Linked DNA regions of Homo sapiens: region 2 is linked to region 1. Evidence: promoter capture Hi-C in human tissues and cell types (Jung and others, 2019). All regions are on one chromosome and are shown on one strand. Each heading gives the region's core, a stretch centred on a gene start or on the middle of the fragment in contact. The rest is flanking DNA. Distances are from core to core; before and after follow the strand shown. Region 1 holds the start of ZP4 (zona pellucida glycoprotein 4). Region 2 has its middle 39 kb from the start of ZP4.

Region 1 (5,182 bases), core at 653-3,152:
TCAGTCAGGCGAGACTTTCTAAAGTTGAGTAGGCATCATACTTCCTGCTGTTTCCTTAGGGAAATGCTCAGATACCCCTCCAGCTTGTGGGATGGAAGACCTGGGTCCTAGTCTCAGTGCACATCTAGCTCTGTGGAGGTATTTTTCCAAGTTCCCTTGCTAGCTTCAGTTTTATTTCCTATCATTCTCCCCATGGGTGAAAAGCTCCTGGTTCTGGGAGAGTTCTTTGAATCCCAGCTCAGTCATTCACCAGTGATAGGCCCTTGGGAAAACTTCCTGGCAAGAGATAGGTTGTATTTTTTTTTTTTTTTTTTTTGAGACAGGGTTTCGCTCTTGTTGCCCAGGCTGTAGTGCAAGGGCACGATCTCAGCTCACCACAACCTCAGCCTCCCAGGTTCAAGCGATTCTCCTGCCTCAGCCTCCCGAGTAGCTGGGATTACAGGCATGTACCACCACACCCGGCTGATTGTGTGTTTTTAGTAGAGATGGGGTTTCTCCATGTTGGTCAGGCTGGACTCCAACTCCCGACCTGATCCACCTGCCTCAGCCTCCCAAAGTGCTGTGATTACAGGTGTGAGCCACTGTGCCTGGCCAGCAGTAGTATTTGCAGCACTATGTTAGGGTTAGGGAAGGTAACACCTGAAGTGCTTACCCACAGTGCCTTGGCATTGAGGAGTCTCAATTGGTAGTTATCCTAAGGATTGCCCATGGAGGTGAGAGTTGGGACATGATCCTTCCTTCATTAGTGTCAGGTGTCACTGCACAGAGCAGGTCAGAGAGGACCAAGAGTACTTTCACACCCCACCCCCACCACCCCCACAAGACCCTGAGAGCTTCCAGCCTTTACCTAGAAGATCCATAGGACACTTGAGCAGCTTCCTCTCTGTAACCACCTTGTGTTCAGCCGCGCCTGCTCCTTCAACTCCAACTGGCATGATGTAGTGGGAGTCCTGGAGAGACAGGCCCTTGGGGGTCAGCCTGGATGGTAGCATGAGGCGCTTCACACAGTCTCCCTGGCCATTGGGTCATACTCACCCACTCAGTGACATAGCAGCTGCTATAGGTTGCCTCCAACACCACGGAGCTGCCTGGACCTTTTCTTATCCAGGTGCCACAGTCGGAGTCATTCTGCAGCTCGTGCAGCAGCCCTTGGTTGTCTGGAGGGGTGGGGAAGAGGTGAGAAAACACAGCGGTCAGTCTCCAGTGCCAGAAAGGATAGTCAGCCTTGCCATTAGACCCCAAGGAGCAACTGTCAATAAGAGGAACAAGAGGGAAATCAGATTCAGATCAGATGTAGTTATAACTTAGACTATTTCTTTTGCAGAAAGATGCAACAGGGCTCAGAAGGTGAAAGTATCAATACGGGAAGATAGGGAGACATCTTAGGTAGTAGAGGAGACATATCATTGCTTGGCTAAGCAAGGCAAGTCATCAAACTTACCCCAAGCTATTAGTACAGGAGGAGACGTTGCCTCCTGGTTGAGGTTTACAGCAAACTGGAAGCTCCACGGCCCACAGTGGAGCACACTGGAATAATCTGGTGCCTCAGGCTTATGCTGGCCACTCACAGCAAGAGATAATGAAACACACAGCAAAACGCACCGCAGCAGCCACATAATGCTACCAGGAGTTCCTGCCGGCTGCAGACTCTCCGCCTCCTCTCCCAAGAGCCGAGGGTCTGCCTGCCCAGATTCCTTTATATACAGAAGTCAGGCTTGTTTTCAGCTGCACATCTTTGTGACACTCAGGTGGGATGCCTTCAGAAAGGGGAATTCCTCTAGCCTCATTTGCTTTGGGGCACAGTCTGCAGCTGCCTCACATTAAATACCACAATCCAGGCAGACTTCAGAGCCCAAGAAAAATGTAGTAACTTTTAGCTAACAGAAAGGAAGGAAAGAAAGCTTCCTCAGGGTTGCTCAACATAGCATTTGTCCCACCAGTTTATTGAACTTATTGACTTCAGAAGACCTCCCTCTAGAATTTTGCACATTTGGGTGTGAAACTACCATCTATGAACTATGGGGTCTGGGTACGTTACAAACTCTCTGAATCTTGGTTTTCTCATCTGTAAAATGGGAATGCTATCTCCTGGCAGTGGTGTGCTTGAGGATTAAGCAAGAGATTCTATGTCAGGTGCCTGGCACAGTGCTTGGCCAAGCAGTGAGTGCTCAGTCAACATTGTCGGGTGAGAGTTGGGGCCCTTGAGAAGCCTTGTCACCTTCTCCATCCATTCTAGAAAAGTTTCTGTACGATTAGAGCCTGTCTTGAAATTCTAGAAAAAAATCTAAACTTATTTCCTGAGAAAGGTTGATTTTGAACCCTTTCCTGGTCCTTAGAGGGAATCCTACCACAGCAATCTTTCAACAAATTCCAAAGTGGTTCATTGCCATAACTGTCCTACAGTGTTTCCCCACAGGATCTGGGGGAAATGTGGATTAGGCCATGAATTCCTCAAACTGGTTCTGCCTCTTACAGCTATTTGACAATTTTATCTTTCGGCTGTGTTTCAGGCATATTTCATAAAGATGTCAGGGTTTCTTGCTTGCTTTCTACATTTTTGTTTTCCACATAAACTACAAGTTATATACTTTGGTCACTCTTTAAGCTAGAGTGTCAGACCAGATTGTAGAGAAATTCTAAGAGATTTGGGGATAAATGGATACATTCCCCACTGGAGAGGCAAGAGCATGGAAACTTGTCTTCTGCAGTCTGCCACCAATATTCCCAAATTGTACCCTGATTGTATTTAGACTGATATTTTTCGGTTGACTAAAAATTGTAGTCAAAGCACTGAGAATGTGTAACTAGGTATCTCTAGTTCTCTTCAACTCATCACAGAGGACAAATAAGTATGTGTCTTCCTGGGAAAATTGGTGGCCCTTTTAACCACATGATGAAAAATGACATTGAAGGAAAGCTGGACTCTGCCCTCAAAGACAGATGTGGCTTCCCTGACACCGTCTACCTGGATTAGGTGCTCACCACTGGGTTATTACATGCCATTTACTCACAGGATTTGCCAGGTTGGATTGTAATGACCTCTTTCTTATTCAGTTTGCCACTAGAAGCACGTGAGGCCAGGGACTTTTTTATTTGTCACTGCATCCTGCGTGCCTTGGATGTATGTACTCAGTGTTCTCTGAGTAAAGACTGAATCAATGAATATGCTTTCATTAGTGGCCATGTCCTAGGGCTAACCCCCTTGAAAATGTAGTTTCCAAACCTCACCGGTACAAATTCATTTCCTTTATGATGAGCTCAAACTCATAACCCTTAGGTATTTTTCCTTCAAGTAAATATCATGTGATTGCACATGTAAGAAAGAATCTGAGGATTTGACTCATGCAAGATGTCTCAGGAGTTAAAAGGCCAGTCTCCTGACTAGACTTACTAATATTGCTTTATGCTGAGACCAGCTCAGTCGGGGAGACCCTAACCCAGGGATGCTAGAGGAATAAAGACACACACACACACACAAATATAGAGGTGTAGAGTGGGAAATCAGGGGTCTCACAGCCTTCAGAGCTGAGAGCCTCGAACAGAGATTTACCCACATATTTACTGACAGCAAGCCAGTGATAAGCATTGTTTCTATAGATTATAGATTAACTAAAAGTCTTCCTTATGGGAAACAAAGGGATGGGCTGAAATAAAGGGATGAGCTCTGGCTAGTTATCTGCAGCAGGAGCATGTCCTTAAGGCACAGATCACTCATGCTATTTGTGGTTTAAGAACACTTTTAAGCGGTTTTCCATCCTGGGTGGGTCTGGGGTTCCTTGCCCTTATTCCGGTAGACCCATAACCTTGCAGCGTGGGCATCATGGCCATCACGACCATCACGAACATGTCACAGTGCTGCAGAGATTTTGTTTATGGCCAGTTTTGGGGCCAGCTTATGGCCAGATTTTGGGGGGCCTGTTCCCAACAGCTTTATAAAGTGGTGAAAAGTCAAGGAGCGTAACTTCCTTTGCTCATACTTGGAGGCAATATAGTATAGTATATCATGTGAGTTTTGACAATGGGTGGACTTGGGTACAAATTCTGACTGTTACTCTGCAACCTCTGTCAATGTATTAACCTCTTTCTCTCAGTTACAGTTTTTATATCTGTAAAATAGGGATAATAACATGGACAGTATTATTACAACAGACGGTTAGATGAAATAATGTATGTACAATGCTTGTTGCATAATTGCTACATTGTCACTAACATCAACAGGACCAGCCTGGGAGATAAAGGTGAGATGGGTGGCAAATGGAAAGCAAATGCCAAGCAGTGCACTCATTGGATCTGCAGGGAGTCTGAGGAACAGCCTATACTCATGAGGCTGCATTCCCAAATGAGGTCCTGTGTTTACATAATGAAGTTGAAAAATCACACAAGCCTGGAACTATGTGGAGCTATCTTGAAGTCCACCTAGGATCACACCCATCTCTCTGATGCTGCAGAGGGTCAAAGATGGATGCCAAGATAATGCAGGCAGGTCTGGGGTTAGGTAATGTTATGCTCATTCCTCTGCTGAATCTTCCAAGAACATCATCATTTAATTTCGGGATGAGAAAATGCACTGATAATGTGTGATCCACCTCGAGGAGCCCCAGGCTTAACAGAAAAAACATCCTATCCACTATTATCACAACATGAATGCTCTGTCCTTTGAATGTGAAAGGGCAAATGCTGTTCTTTGTCTTATGTCAGAATCACCCAGTCATTTAAAAATTGTTTCAGAGCCATTACGAACAGATTATGAGGCATCCTAATGTGTACAGACTTATCAAAAGCCCCATAGTCATGGTAGTATTCATGCAACCCACATTTTATAGGCGGGCTTAAGGATTCCCCTTGTGTTCCTTACCAAAGTACTTGGGAGTCCTGCACTGAAGCTAAGCTGCCCATTCCTCATTCACTGAAGCTGCCCATTCCTCATTCAGTGATCTGGCCACTCAGGTCATGAGGGCAACCTGTGTGATTGGGGAAAGGCAAACGGTGATTTCCAAAAACCTTCTTCAATCTGGTCATATTTACATTTGAGTGTTTCATTTTAAACTGCAGAATAGGGACATCACCCCACAAGGTTTGGATAGCATGGAGCTGTAGTACAATGCTTTCTGGCCATTGAGTACAGACTCCTCATCTGACATTAACAGTGATTGCCCCGCTGTGACTGGAGCAGGGTCCTCCT
Region 2 (5,326 bases), core at 2,570-5,069, 38 kb before region 1:
TACATTTTATAATATCACACATGTCACAAAAGGTTAACAAAATCCAATACTCTTTGATAATAAAAACTCAACAAAGAAGAAACAGAGAACTACTTCAATCTGATAACGGCATCTACAAATATCCCCCAACTAACTTCACACTTAATGGTGAAAGACGAATGCTTTCCCCCTAACTCTAAGAACAAAACAAAAATGTCTGCTCTAGCTACTTCTATTCAAATTTATACTAGATCTCCTAGCCAGGAAAATTAGGCAAGAAAAAAAATAGAAGGCATCCGGATGGAGAAGAAGGAAGCAAAACAATGTTCATTCATAGCGGACAAAGCTCAAGATATAAAATGCACAGTTCTATCTATATTTATCTCTATATATTAAAAACCATGGATTGACACTGAACCCTCCGACTCCAATCTGACACCACAGAGTTCATTCCAGTTTCTCCATTTTCAAATCTGTAACTCCCTTCTCCAATAGTTAGACACCTAGATCCCTTTTATCCTCAGTAGATTTACTTTTTGAGCCAACAGTCCTTCTGTGTAACTAATCTCCGATAGCCACACCATCTTCTATTTGAATACATTCCTGTCTTCAGTCTCTGACCCCTCACCTGCGCTGGGTTGCTCTCCCCTAAGCAGTCACCTCACAGCCAGTTACGACTGCCAATACCCCCTTCTGGGGCAGACGCCCTTCTGCTCACTCAGCAGCCCTCGCTGGGTTGCCCACACCTTCACTCTCACTCCCCCCGTGGGTGATGCCCTCCTCACTCCTCTGGGGTTCCTATATTCCACACTGGGCCACTACCACTGCCTCCTCCTCATCTAGACACTCCACCTAATGGTTTTTAGGTTGAATTATTGAAGAGGAGAGGGAGGGAGGATGAGAGAGAGGGAGGGGAAGGGAACTTTTTTTAACCTCAACTACTTCTTACATTCTTGCCAATGCATCAAAGGTTTTTAATAAGTTGATAGTTCTCTGTGGTAGTGTCTACTAAAGGTTATCCTTTAGATGCCATGTGATCCAGAAATTCCAACATTAGGTAGATATACCCAAGTGTATATAGGTACAACAAAAGATGCATGTAATAATTTTCATAGGTGTGTTATTCGTAATAGCTAAACACTGCAGGAAAACATCCTACAATTGAGCAGACAAGTAAACTCTTTTCATGTGCTATATTCATACGATAGAATGCTATACACCAATAAAAACCAAACGACTGCACATAAAACAATATGGATGAGTCTCACAGTGGAGCGAAAGATGTCAGATGTAACAAAAGAAATATTGTGTGATTCTCAACAGGCAAAAATTACCTTTAAAGTCAGCTTGGTGGAAGGAGGGGTTTGTGACTAGAAGCACAGAGAAGCATAGGCTGGCTTTTGAAATGCCAGTAGGGTTACATTTGTTGATTTGAGTGGTTGCTATACAGGTGTGTTCATTTGTGATAACCTGACTATGCAATTATTTGCACATGTTTCTGTATGTATGTTAGACTTTAATAAAAACAGTTATTTAAACCAAAGTTGCTTTTTGTATTTTTAGTATTTTTGTTTTCCCTGGGAAGATGATCAGGGCTGTCACCTACCATTACATACCATTACACCAAGAACAAATTCCCTCTCTACGGTTCTGTGTATAGATTTGTAAATATTACTTTAATGAAAGTTTTTGTTTTGCTTTTTTTTTTTTTTGAGATGGAGTCTCGCTCCATTGCCCAGGTTGGAGTGCAGTGGCATGATCTTGGCCCACTGCAACCTCCACCTCCTGGGTTCAAACAATTCTCCTGCCTCAGCCTCCCGAGTAGCTGGGATTACAGGTGTGCACCACCACACCTGGCTAATTTTTGTATTTTCAGTATAGATGGGGTTTCACCATGTTTGCCAGGCTGGTCACAAACTCCTGACCTCAGGTGATCCACCCACCTTGGCCTCTCAAAGTGCTGGGATTACAGGTGTGAGCCACTGTGCCAAGCCAGAAAGTTTTTTTGAGCAAACCTTTTTTATGAGAAGGTGAACTCCTGAAAGTCAATGTTACCACTTTATTCTGCTTGTATCCAGCAATGCTTAGAATAATTTTCAATAAGTTATAGATGCTCAATATATGTTAAAGGAACAAACGACTTGCCATTTGAGTTTGTGATGCAAGTAGAATTTCCAGCTCTATCTTACAAAAATGTTTTCTGGTCGACTGGTGTTTTGGCTCTCTTGCCAGGCACCACCCATTGGAATGGCCTTGGTTTACTCTTCATGAGGCTGTGGATTAACTCCTAAGTATCTTGGGGCTTTTCCTTATAAAGACACGACCATAAAAACTGGGTCACAGTTCTCTTGGAATTCTGCGTTCTACTGAAGTTGTTTCAGTGTTGGTAGTGGAGCTTTGCAACCTAATTAACACCATGGGAAAAGGCATTATCGGCCAGGGAAAAGCAATTCAACAGAGCTAAAGATACATAGCATGACTACAGAGGAGACAGCAGGGGGCGCCAGTGGAGCACTCGTGAGGCTGCTTTGACATCACTTCCAGTATCTATCAGCATTCTGTTCCTAATATAATTATTATACAACCGTGTTGCACCACATTGAGACAAGTTGACTGCTTACTTGAAGGAGATGGTAAATGAATATGGACAGGATATCTCCTTGCCACAACTCTGATTTTATTGTTTCTCAGCTCATATTTTAAAACTTTTCTGAAGTGGCTTCATTCACTCATCTCCTATAAGCATAATTTTCTCCCCCACCCTTTTGCCCTAAAAAAAAGTAAAAATCAACACTGTGATGACTACCTGAATGTTGAATACCTTGGAGTTTAATTTATTCATAAATTTGGGGGTTTGCTGCTACTTCATTAAAGTATATTTCCTCTAATTTTTTAAGTCTATCTTGAAGTTAGATACTAATTTTTGGTTGGGAAAAGAGGGAAGGGCTAAATTGCAAGTTTTATGTACTCTCTCCATAGCTGTTTGGATTATTCTGGTAGATATTCCATTTGATTATCCATCAAAGTACTGAAGAAAGGAGGTGGCTTGTCTTGGTGGCAGCTGAAGATTGTTCATGTTATGATATTCACACTTCAAACTGCATCTCAGTCGTATTAGTAATAAGCAATAGAGCAGAGACCTCAAAGACTTAGCATTGCATTAGGTATTTCAGGTGTGATTCTAGGTATCACTACTTAATATATTCATTTAGCAGAGAGTTACTAAATACCTTTCTATTGGACACCAGGCTGGGTACTTTGGAAACGGGGGTCAACAGAATATGGCACATTTCCTAACCCATTTAAATCTCAGTTTCCATCTCTGTAGAATGATGATATTATCTTACCTCATTGCATGTCATGAGAATTAAATGGTAAAGCTACCAATATTAGTATGTACGCGAACAATGCTCGGTAAATATTAGTCTTTGCCATACAGACTTTTTAGTAGTCTGTATCCATGTTTCAAACATGGTAAATCAAATACATTGATTCTCCTTGGTGCTTTTAGTTGATTTAGTAGTTAAACATTTTGCAAAATCTAATTATGGTTAGGGTTTGAGATTACATTCTAGCTGTCTTCACAATGGGCTTGAAATAAATGGTGTGTGTTCGAGATGACGCTTTCCTTTGGCACAGGAAGTTTATGGTCTTTTCTATTCATTTATCATTTTACTTGCTTCCTGGAAACCGATAACCTCTAAAAGCTTCTCTTTTGTTCCTTAACTGGAATTTCTCTTCCATATTATTTGCATGTCTTCCACCTAATGTACCCAAATCAATTATGAAGCAATTATTTTTAAAATGTCCCTTATGAGAATGTAAAGAAGGAAATGGATCACAGTTTAAATATGTTAGCTGTGGCTCATGCCTGTAATCCCAGCACTTTGGGAGGCCAAGGCAGGTGGATCACCTGAGGTTGGGGTTCGAGACCAGCCTGGCCAATATGGTGAAACCCCATCTCTACTAAAAATACAAAAAATTAGCTCGACGTGGTGGCAGGCAACTGTAATCCCAGTTACTCAAGAGGCTGAGGCAAGAGAATTGCTTGAACCTCGGAGACAGAGGTTGCAATGAGCCAAGATCATGCCACTGCACTCCAGCCTGGGTAACACAGCAAGACTCTATCTCAAAAAATAATAATAAATAAAAGTGTTGGTAGGCTGCTTTTCTTTTTAGATACATCCCAAAGGACCTTCCCTCCCTGCATCTTTTTCTTGTTTCTGTCAGGCTCATCCTAAACTTTTTGCCACATCTTCAACTCCAGAGCTGCCAGTGTTAAACTTGAGTCACTATTGGATCAGGGAATAAAATGTCTTTCTTTTCTTATCCATAATCATTTTTATTGAGTTGCAGCCAAATATATCCACAGCTTGCAGTTACATCCCTCATTCATACAAATGTCCTTTTAGCATAACCTTCTTGTCAATATATTGCTTCCAGCCTCTAAAGTAAACTTTCTGAATTGCCATTGTTTCTTAATGCTTTGACCTTGGCTATCCTCCATCAACACTTTACCTTCTGTCTTCGCTTCTTGTACTATTTAAACAGCATTAGTCTCACAAATGTTCCTTTCTAATTTCTGTCCTACCACCAACCTTGTGTCTTCAATGCATGCCACCTGCCTCACTGAAACATCCATTCAGTGAAGAACCTCCTGCCTTTCTCACACCCCCACCAACACCACACAGCATTATCTAGAATATCAACTTCAACCAAGCTGTCATTGTCTTATAATAGAAACAGCATAGAGAGATACTATAAAGCTTATCCTCCTCCAGAAATTGCAATACATTTGAACTTTTTTTATGGCTTTAGACTGAATCATTTGAAGCTCATACCCCCACGACATTGTCCTAATATGTTGCACTCTTCCTAAAAACATCCTCAGGGGTAGAGAAATCACAGCTGATGGAACTACAACCATGTGCCTATAGTTTATTAGGTTACTAGCTCCTATTTCTTCCAGGCTAGAGGATTGTTTTGCCTCAGGTCAATACACAGTGCTCTTTTGTTAGCTCAGATTGTGAAGGTCATGTTTTCTCTACATCTGAATATGAACCTTCTCCTGTGTTAGCATCGGTGTGATTTTTAACCAGAGTCAAGTAATTGATTTCTGAAGACACCCTGGCCTTTACATACTTGCATGTCTTACTTCATGTAATTTTCTCTTGCTTTTCAAGTACATGATTAGCCACAATGTGATAAGTATATAAATCAACTGCCTGCCCTCTAGGACTTCTCACATTTAAATGTAGACCTAAATTACTTTTGTTACACTGAAAAGATTTGAAAATGCTCGGTTGAATCACATTCAAGCCACTTCAGAAGGCTGCAATAATTTCCT

What was found. The method cuts DNA at HindIII sites, captures the fragments that hold promoters and counts their contacts. A contact is called where the count stands out against the background at its distance.
Region 2: a contact is called between a fragment that was not itself captured here and the fragment with the promoter of ZP4 in region 1, in 1 of the 25 tissues and cell types used here (liver).

The regions. Positions count from the first base shown.
Region 1 is chr1:237,889,020-237,894,201 of GRCh38, forward strand. ZP4 (zona pellucida glycoprotein 4) reads right to left here and starts at 1,903. Exons shown (of 12, transcript NM_021186.5): 1 at 1,442-1,903; 2 at 1,036-1,157; 3 at 848-950. The coding sequence starts at 1,616. It also overlaps the pseudogene LOC100130331. The HindIII fragment of the contact is 12,268 bases long and covers 1-5,182 here.
Region 2 is chr1:237,848,946-237,854,271 of GRCh38, forward strand. No RefSeq gene overlaps it. Among named protein-coding and RNA genes, the nearest start is that of ZP4, 39 kb to the right of the region's middle. The HindIII fragment of the contact is 4,306 bases long and covers 1,667-5,326 here.